3 separate regions of the Homo sapiens genome follow, and all the other regions are linked to region 1. The links are contacts of gene promoters, found by promoter capture Hi-C in blood cells and fetal thymus (Javierre and others, 2016). All regions are on one chromosome and are shown on one strand. Each heading gives the region's core, a stretch centred on a gene start or on the middle of the fragment in contact. The rest is flanking DNA. Distances are from core to core; before and after follow the strand shown.

Region 1 (2,700 bases), core at 121-2,620:
ACTATCCCTGTTTGTATATGACATGATTGCTCATGCAGAAAATCCAAGGAATCTGCCAAAAAAGGTGTAAAACCTAATAATTGAGCTCAGCAAGATTGCAGGATACAAGACCAACAGACAAAACTCAATTGTATTCCTATATATAAGCAACAATTTAAAAGATAACACCATTTATGACCACTCCAAAACAATTAAATACTTAGGTATAAATTGAATAAGACATGTACAGAACTTGGGTGATGAAAATTAAAATACACCATTTATAGAAATTTTAAAAGATCTAAATAAATAGAGAGACATACTATGTATATGGATTGGAAGACTTGGCACAGTTAAGACTTAACTTCTTCCCGAGTTGGTATACAGGTTTAATGCAATTCCTATCAAAATCCAAGCAAGATGCTTTGTAGATAGAGACAAGATTTTCTAAAATGCATATAGGAAAGGCAAGGGAACCAGAGGCATTAAAACAATTTTGAAAAAGAATAAAGTGAGAGGAATCACTCTATCCAATTCAAGACAGCAAGGTAGTACTGGCAGAGGGATAGACACATAGACAATGAACTGAATAGCAAACCCAGAAAGAGCCCACACACAAGTATGGCCAACTTATTTTTGACAATGGTGAAAGACAAGTCAATGGAGGAAAGATAGTCTTTTCAACAAATGGTGCTTCAGTCTGGACATCCATAAGCAAATTAATGCACCTCGACCTAAGTCTCATACTTTATACAAAAAGTAACTCACAGAGGATCACAGACAGCAGTAAGGAGACACAGACAAATCACCATCACAGTGGAGAATTTCTCTCTCCTCGAAGTAATAGAAGAAGCAGACAAAAAAGGATAGATTTTCTATGACACAATTGACGACTAAATAATTAAATATTATTTTCAAGTTATATATAGAACGTTTCTAAAAATTCACCACGGACTAGGCCATAAGTCTCCTTATATTTCAAGGAATGAGCTTCACGTAGATATTTTTCTAACACAGAAAACTAAGGTTAGAGATCCATTACAGAGATAAACTTTTGCACACTGAAACCCCACTTTTGAATAACTCCCGGGTAAAAGACAAATGAATACAAGTTAACACTCTTAAAAAACATAATGCTCCAAACCCAATGGGGCTTAGAATGAACTTTAAGACCTTAACGGTGATGTTAGAAAAGAGAAAAGCCTGCAAAATGATGAGTGAATCATCCAACTCAAGTTAGATAAACGATTCCATCACTGGCCACACAGAATCGCCCAGCACTCACCCTCCCCGGCCCCCCATCACCTCCACATCCCTGGGCACTGAACGTCGAATCCTCCTGACAACTATCAAACCCCGGCTGAGAACCGGCGAGAACCGCAGCCGCTTCCGGTCACTACCCCTAGCACCGCCCTTTTTCGGGGTTTGGGACTTCACATGAATGAGGGAAGCGGAGGTTCCGCGCGTGCGCAAAACCACCTTTGAAGCTGCTGTTAGCCAGGAGTCAACATGGAGAAGTTACGGAAGTGGGTGCTTTGGGACGTTCGGTACCCCTCGGCGGCGTGGTCAGGTGGGGAACATGGCCGCGCCCACGTCGCGCTTCCCCATGGGATACACCATGTTGGAGGAGTGTCCATCCGTATTGAGGATGAGGACACCTCTGAACTCACAGAGCAGGCTGTGAGTTTAGAGCTGTCTGCTCTAAACTCAGGTGGAGCTGTCCCGCTGGTGGCAGGGAGCACGGGTGGGGACGTTTCTCTGGGCGGGCTAACTGGAGGAGGGGGTCTTTGGACCTGTAGTCTATGGATCTGTGTGATACCGCTCCGAGAAACTGAAGGGCCTCTTGGAAAGAATCAGGGGCGGCCGCGGCTATCTCCTGGCAGATACCACAGGATGAGAAGCGGGGAGATGTCAGGCTGGTTACAGGCTTCTCCTAGGACATACCACAAGGGGAGGAGGAGGAGGAGAAATCATGGTTATGCAAGCCCTCCTAGGATATGCCATGAGGTGGGAAAAAGGGAGAACTCAGAGTGCTGGGTTCCCCTCCTGCTGTGCCTGTGGGGCTTGGATGCGAGGTTTGAATGCTGCAGCAATTTACCTTATCTCCCACTCCATCTACCCCAGCTAAAAAGGGACTACGTAGTACCAATACTAATAATTTTTAATGTGTCCTTAGTCCAATGCAATATGTCAATAAAAATCTTTAGGAAACTTTATTATTTTTATTTCCTCATGAAGTAAAATATATGTGGTCATGGTGCCCTTACTTTGGAAATGTAGCTTTAATACAAGGCTCTGCTTCTACCCTTCAACCAGTTTGCTGCTCCATATCACCTCCAATGTGTAAATTCTGGAGATGCCCCTGCCCTCTGGGAGATGTCACTGGAGCAGAAGGGGAAGAAGTCGTGCAGTCCTTCACCTAAGAATGCCTATTCATCCTTCAAAATCAAGTTCAAATATCTCCTCCTCCAGAGAATCCTGACAGAGCTAGAAGCCTGTGTGCCCTCCTGAAAGCCTTTCTGAATCCTCAGGTGAAAAAAATATTTTGAGAGGACCTGGTGTAGGCTGAAGTGTGGACTTGCTGGGGGCTCTCAATCCAGTCTTATCCCCTCTGGCCCTCGGTTTAACAATCTCGAAGGTTAGAGGTGTCCTAGTCCAATTAGCCTCAAACTAATTTTTAGTCTGACAGATCCAGCAATCAATAAGGGAGACTGCACACCA
Region 2 (2,700 bases), core at 9-2,508, 200 kb before region 1:
TTTACAGATGGTGAAGGAGAGTCCCAGAGAGGGTAAAACTTTAGTTCATTGGAGATTGAGTTTTTCCATCAGTTTACTAAGCTTTATTGTTTGTTTGTTTTTGGTTTAGTTTTGTCTTTTACAGATGGGGTCTCACTATGTTGCTCAAGCTGGTCTTGAACTCCTGGTGCCTTGACCTCCCAAAGTGCTGGGATTACAGGCGTAAGCCACTATGTCCAGTTTAGCAAGCTTTAATTTTAATAGTCCGTTAGGTCTGTCTATCATTACAGGAGAGAGAGATGATAAAAATATTCTGTTTTAATATTTGGTCTTTGACCCCAGTTTCTGATACAAAGCTCTTAAGACCGTTGTAATTTCTTGTGTGATAGGAGTGTCTGACACAGAGCTTCTAAATCCCTTGGAATTTCCTGGGTGATAGAAGCATCTTTTGCTCTAATGAGGTGACCTCTTAATGTCCTCCTGGATAGCCTCAGGATGGGAGCTGGTTGCCAGGGGAATCAACCATGTGATTAGAAGGTTGGGACCTCCAGCCCCATCCCTCAACTCTGGGGCTGAAGGTTGAATTGATCATCAATGGCTAATGATGTAATCAATTACATCTAGGTAATGGAGCCTCTATAAAAACCCAAAAGGACAGGGCTTGGGGAGCTTCCAGATAGCTGGAAATGTGTGGGTTCTTGGAGGGTGGTGCTCTGGAGGCGGCATGGGAACTCCACACCCCTTCCCTCATGCCTTGCTCTATGCATCTTCGCTATCTGGCTGTTAATCTTCATCCTTCATTATATCCCTTATTAATAAACCAGTAAACATAAGTAAAGTGTTTGCCTGGGTTCTGTGAGCTGCTCTAGCAAATGAATTGAACCTCAGGGGGGTCGTGGGAATCCTGACTTACAGCCAGTTGGTAAGAAGTACAGGTCTCAATATGTGCTTGCAACTGGCATCTCAAATGGGAGACAGTCTTGTGAGACTGAGTCCTCAACTTGTGGGAGCTGACTCTGTCTCCAAGTAGATAGTCAGTAGTGGATTGAATTAGAGGACACCCAGCTCTTTATACCTGTGCTTTATGTTGACTTTTTCATATCCTTAGTTATTTAAGAGAATCAAGTTTTTTCACTTTTTAAAGAGCTATTTTTACAACCATGTTACCTCCTATATTTACTTTAAAATCACTTTAGTTAAATGGTAGCCAAGTATTGTTTATCAGTGACCCATGACCCTATTTAACCAAATTTTCAAGTATCCTAACAATTTTTGACATTTTGCCTTCCTCAAATCTAATCTTTTTTCTTTTTTCTTTTTGAGACAGAGTCTCAATCTGTCGCCCAGGCTGGAGTGCGGTGGCTCCATCTCCGGTCGCTGCAACCTCTGCCTCCCGGGTTCAAGCGATTTTCGTGCCTCAGCCTCCCGAGTAGCTGGAATTATAGGTGTGTGCCACCATGCCTGGCTAATTTTTGTATTTTTTAAGTAGAGACGGGGTTTCACCATGTTGGCCAGGCTGGTCTCAAACTCCTGACCTCAAGTGATCCGCTGGTCTCGGCCTCCCAAAGTGCTGGGGTTATAGGCATGAGCCACTGCGACCAGCTCCAAATCTAATATTAAATGGTATGTTTTATACCTAAACCTGCCTTTGAGATTTTCCAGAGGGTCCCAAGGAAATCACAAAATGATTTGTTCTTTCACTTTTTAAAAGGAGGTACTAAAATAATTAGATTTAGTTAATATTATATAAAGTGTATGGGAAGTGTTGTAAAAAAAATACTTAGCCTTCCCTAAATTAACAGGGCAAGTGTTTTGCACATGGACAATTCCATTAGCTCTTTTTAAGTGGCTGAGGGACCCATTTCACCAGTAAAGTAATCTAAGAAATCCAAGTCGTTCTTCCTGTATCACAAAAATATGTAGTCCTTATTATCTCTCCGGATCATCCCTTATCACCTATCTTTCCTGTAATAATAGACAGACCTAATGGACTATTAAAATTAAAACTTGCTAAAGTGGGTATGGTGGCTCACGCCTGTAATCCCAGCACTTTGGGAGGCCAAGGCAGGAGGATCACTTGAGGCCAGGAGTTCAAGACCAGCTTGGGCAACAAAGCAAGATCCCATCTCTACAAAAAAAACAATTAAAAATTAGCTGGGTGTGGTGGCACATGCCTATGGTCCCAGCTACTTGGGAGGCTGAGGTGGGAGGATTGCTTGAGCCCAGGAATTTGAGACCAGCCTGAGCAACATAGTGAGATCCTATCTGTAAAAAAAACAAAACCAAACCAAACAAACAATAAAGCTTGCTAAACTGATGGAAAAACTCAATACGCAATGGCCTAAAATTTTACCCTTAGCCCTGATTGCCTTCTGATCCTCTCCTGCCAGATCACACAAACTATACCCATATACAATAATAACTGGCAAGCCCCATGAGAATTCCCTATTCTATTTAGGCTTTCAAATATCCTAACCTGGTCAATTCAGACAATCTAAATTACTTCAAAATATTTATCAATTATACTCAAACTTACCTTCAATAGGTTGAGGCTGATTTTCCTCCAATTTTCCTATCCAAACCATTGTACAACCTAGAAATTGGAGACCTTGTTCTCTAAAGTCAACATCACCAGAAAACTAATCTTAAACCCTGTTAAAAGGGCCTCTGCATTGTCCTCTGTACATCACTAACACTGCTGCCAAGGCTACAGCAACCAAA
Region 3 (2,700 bases), core at 70-2,569, 240 kb before region 1:
ACAGGACCAAGGTGAAATTAAAATTGCTAATGAAGATTCGGGCACCATAGTCATTGATAACATCTTATCAGGAGACAGGGTTTTGAGAGCAACCGGTCTGACCAAAATTATTAGGTGGGAATTTCCTCTTCCTAATAAGCCTGGGAGTGCTATGGGAGACTGGGGTTTATTTCACCCCTGCAGTCTTGACCATAAAAGACAGGTGCACCTGGGGGGGCCGTTCATAGGCCTATATCTCCAGGTGCGTATTCTCTTTCTCAGGGATGTTCCTTGCTGAGAAAAGGAATTCAGCCATATTTCTCCCATTTGCTTTTGAAAGAAGAGAAATATGGCTCTGTTCCATCCGGCTCACCGGCATTCAGAGTTTAAGGCTATCTCTCTTATTCCCCGAACAATTGCTGTTATCCTGTTCTTTTTTCAAGGTGCCCACATTTCATATTGCTCAAACATACATGCTGTACAATTTGTGCAGTTAACGCAATTATCATATTGTCCTGAGGCGACATACATCCTCCTCAGCTGACAGGATTAAGAGATTAAAGTAAAGACAGGCATAGGAAATCACAAGGGTATTGATTGAAGAAGTGATAAGTGTCCATGAAATATTTACAATTTATGTTTAGAGATTGCAGTAAAGACAGGCATAAGAAATTATAAAAGTATTAATTTGGGGAACTAATAAATGTCCATGAAATCTTCACAATTCACGTTCTTCTGCCATGGCTTCAGCCAGTCCCTCCGTTTGGGGTCCCTGACTTCCTGCAACAGACATTTATATTTAAATGATTCAGAAAAAATTATGTGTATATATATATATATAATATGCACCATATATATGTACATATATGTTATATATATGTAAAGAAAATAGGATAAAATAATCACATTTGGAGAATCTGGATGAAGGGTATATGAGAGTTCTTTGTACTATTTTTGCAACTTTTTCTGTAAGTTTGAAATTATTTCCAAATAAAGCATTAAAATAAATGCAGAGTATTGGACCTCATCCTTGACTTATTGGATCAGAAGCTCTGGGTCTAGAGTCCAGGAGTATGCATGAAAGGCATTACTTACTGCATCAGAAATTTTTGTAAAGATTATTTTATTTTTTATTATTATTATTTTTACATTTTTTGTAGAGATGGGATCTCACTAGGTTGCCCAGGCTGGTCTCCAATTCCTGGGCTCACGCTATCCTCCTGCCCTGGGCTCCCAAAGAGTTGGAATTATAGGCCTGAGCCACTGTGCTCTGCCTAAACATTTTATTTTTAAAAATTCCTGTGGACATGTCTAGAGAGAAGCATCAAAAAATTATTGAGAAGGGCTTTGATCATCATGAAAATTCTTAACTTCCAGGGGTCCTGTCATACATAGTTTCCCACATATTTGAGAGAAATCTTAAAGATGTACATAGCTACTGTATTAGTCTGCTTAGGTTGCCATAACAAAATACCATAGACTAGATGGCTTAAACAATAGAAATTTATTTTCTCACAGTTCTGGAGGCTGGAAAGTCCAAGATCAAGGTTCCAGAAAGGTTTGGTTTCTGGTGAAGCCTCTCTTTCTGGCTTGCCGATGGCTGCCTTCATGCTGTGTCATCACATGGCGGAGAGAGAATCTCTTGGGTCTCTTACACTTGTCTCCAATCAGGGTTCCACCTTCTGACATCATTAACCTTAATCATCTTCTTATAGGCCGTATCTCCCATGCAGTCATGTAGGGTGTTAGGTCTTCAACATACAAATTTTGAGGGAACACAATTCAGTGCACAGCAGCTACTGCATAACACTGATGAAGTCTAGACATGATTGTGGCTTTAGTTAGGGCTACACAGCAGATTATGTGTCCTCTCTTCTCCACACTGAATCTAGGCCTTGGGTCACATTTCTGCCATCTATGGCCTTCAGATCTGAGCCTTGATCTTGGTCCTGTGTTAACTCTTCCACTTTCACTGCCACTCAGGCCTGACCTTGCACCTGGTTCTCTGTTCAGTTTTCTCTCTTTCTTTCTTTCTTTTTTTTTTGAGATGGAGTTCCACTCTGTTGCCCAGGCTGGAGTGCAGTGGTGTGATCTCTGCTCACTGCAACCTCCCCCTCCCGGTTTCAAGTGATTCTTATGCCTCAGCCTCCTGAGTACCTAGGATTACAGGCATGTGCCACCACGCCTAGCTAATTTTTGTATTTTTAATAGAGATGGGGTTTCCCCATGTTGGCCAGGCTGGTCTCAAACTCCTGACCTCAAGTGATCTGCCTCAGCCTCCCAAAGTGTTGGGATTACAGGCGTGAGCCACTGTGCCTGGACTGTTCAGTTTTCTCTTTATGCCTACTTCTGTTAATGCTTCCACCCCTAATGCCCCACTTGTTGGGGCATCTCTGTTAACTATTTCATCATCAACTCATTTCTAGCATGAAAACCAAACCTGACTTCTTTTTATTTTTCCTCCATCAATGCCTCTTCTGATCTGTGAATTAAATCCAGGTTTCTTAACACCATTAGTTTTCCCACTCTGATTTATATATTAAACCTAGAGCTCAGTTATAGATTTTAGCATTAATGCTCCCATTTTTTGACATTGAATCTGGCTGGCTGTTAAATTTTTTTTTAGGGGTCTTGCTCTGTCACCCAGGCTGAAGTGCAGTATCACAATCATAGCCCACTGCAGCCTCGAAGTCCTGGGCTCAAGCGATCCTCCTGCCTCAG

Evidence for each region. Contacts are between HindIII fragments. The CHiCAGO score rates a contact against its expected background, and 5 or more counts as called.
Region 2: a fragment that was not itself captured here is called in contact with the fragment with the promoter of ZNF81 in region 1 in 1 of 17 cell types (naive B cells); the score reaches 5.7 in naive B cells.
Region 3: a contact is called between a fragment that was not itself captured here and the fragment with the promoter of ZNF81 in region 1, in 1 of 17 cell types (neutrophils). The highest score is 6.5, in neutrophils.

Annotation. Positions count from the first base shown.
Region 1 is chrX:47,835,572-47,838,271 of GRCh38, reverse strand. It overlaps ZNF81 (zinc finger protein 81), which reads right to left and starts at 1,370. Exons shown (of 5, transcript NM_007137.5): 1 at 1,285-1,370. RefSeq lists an enhancer at 1,243-1,622. The HindIII fragment of the contact is 3,931 bases long and covers 1-2,700 here.
Region 2 is chrX:48,040,421-48,043,120 of GRCh38, reverse strand. No RefSeq gene overlaps it. Among named protein-coding and RNA genes, the nearest start is that of ZNF630-AS1, 15 kb to the left of the region's middle. The HindIII fragment of the contact is 2,055 bases long and covers 231-2,285 here.
Region 3 is chrX:48,075,814-48,078,513 of GRCh38, reverse strand. No RefSeq gene overlaps it. Among named protein-coding and RNA genes, the nearest start is that of ZNF630, 5.5 kb to the right of the region's middle. The HindIII fragment of the contact is 7,479 bases long and covers 1-2,700 here.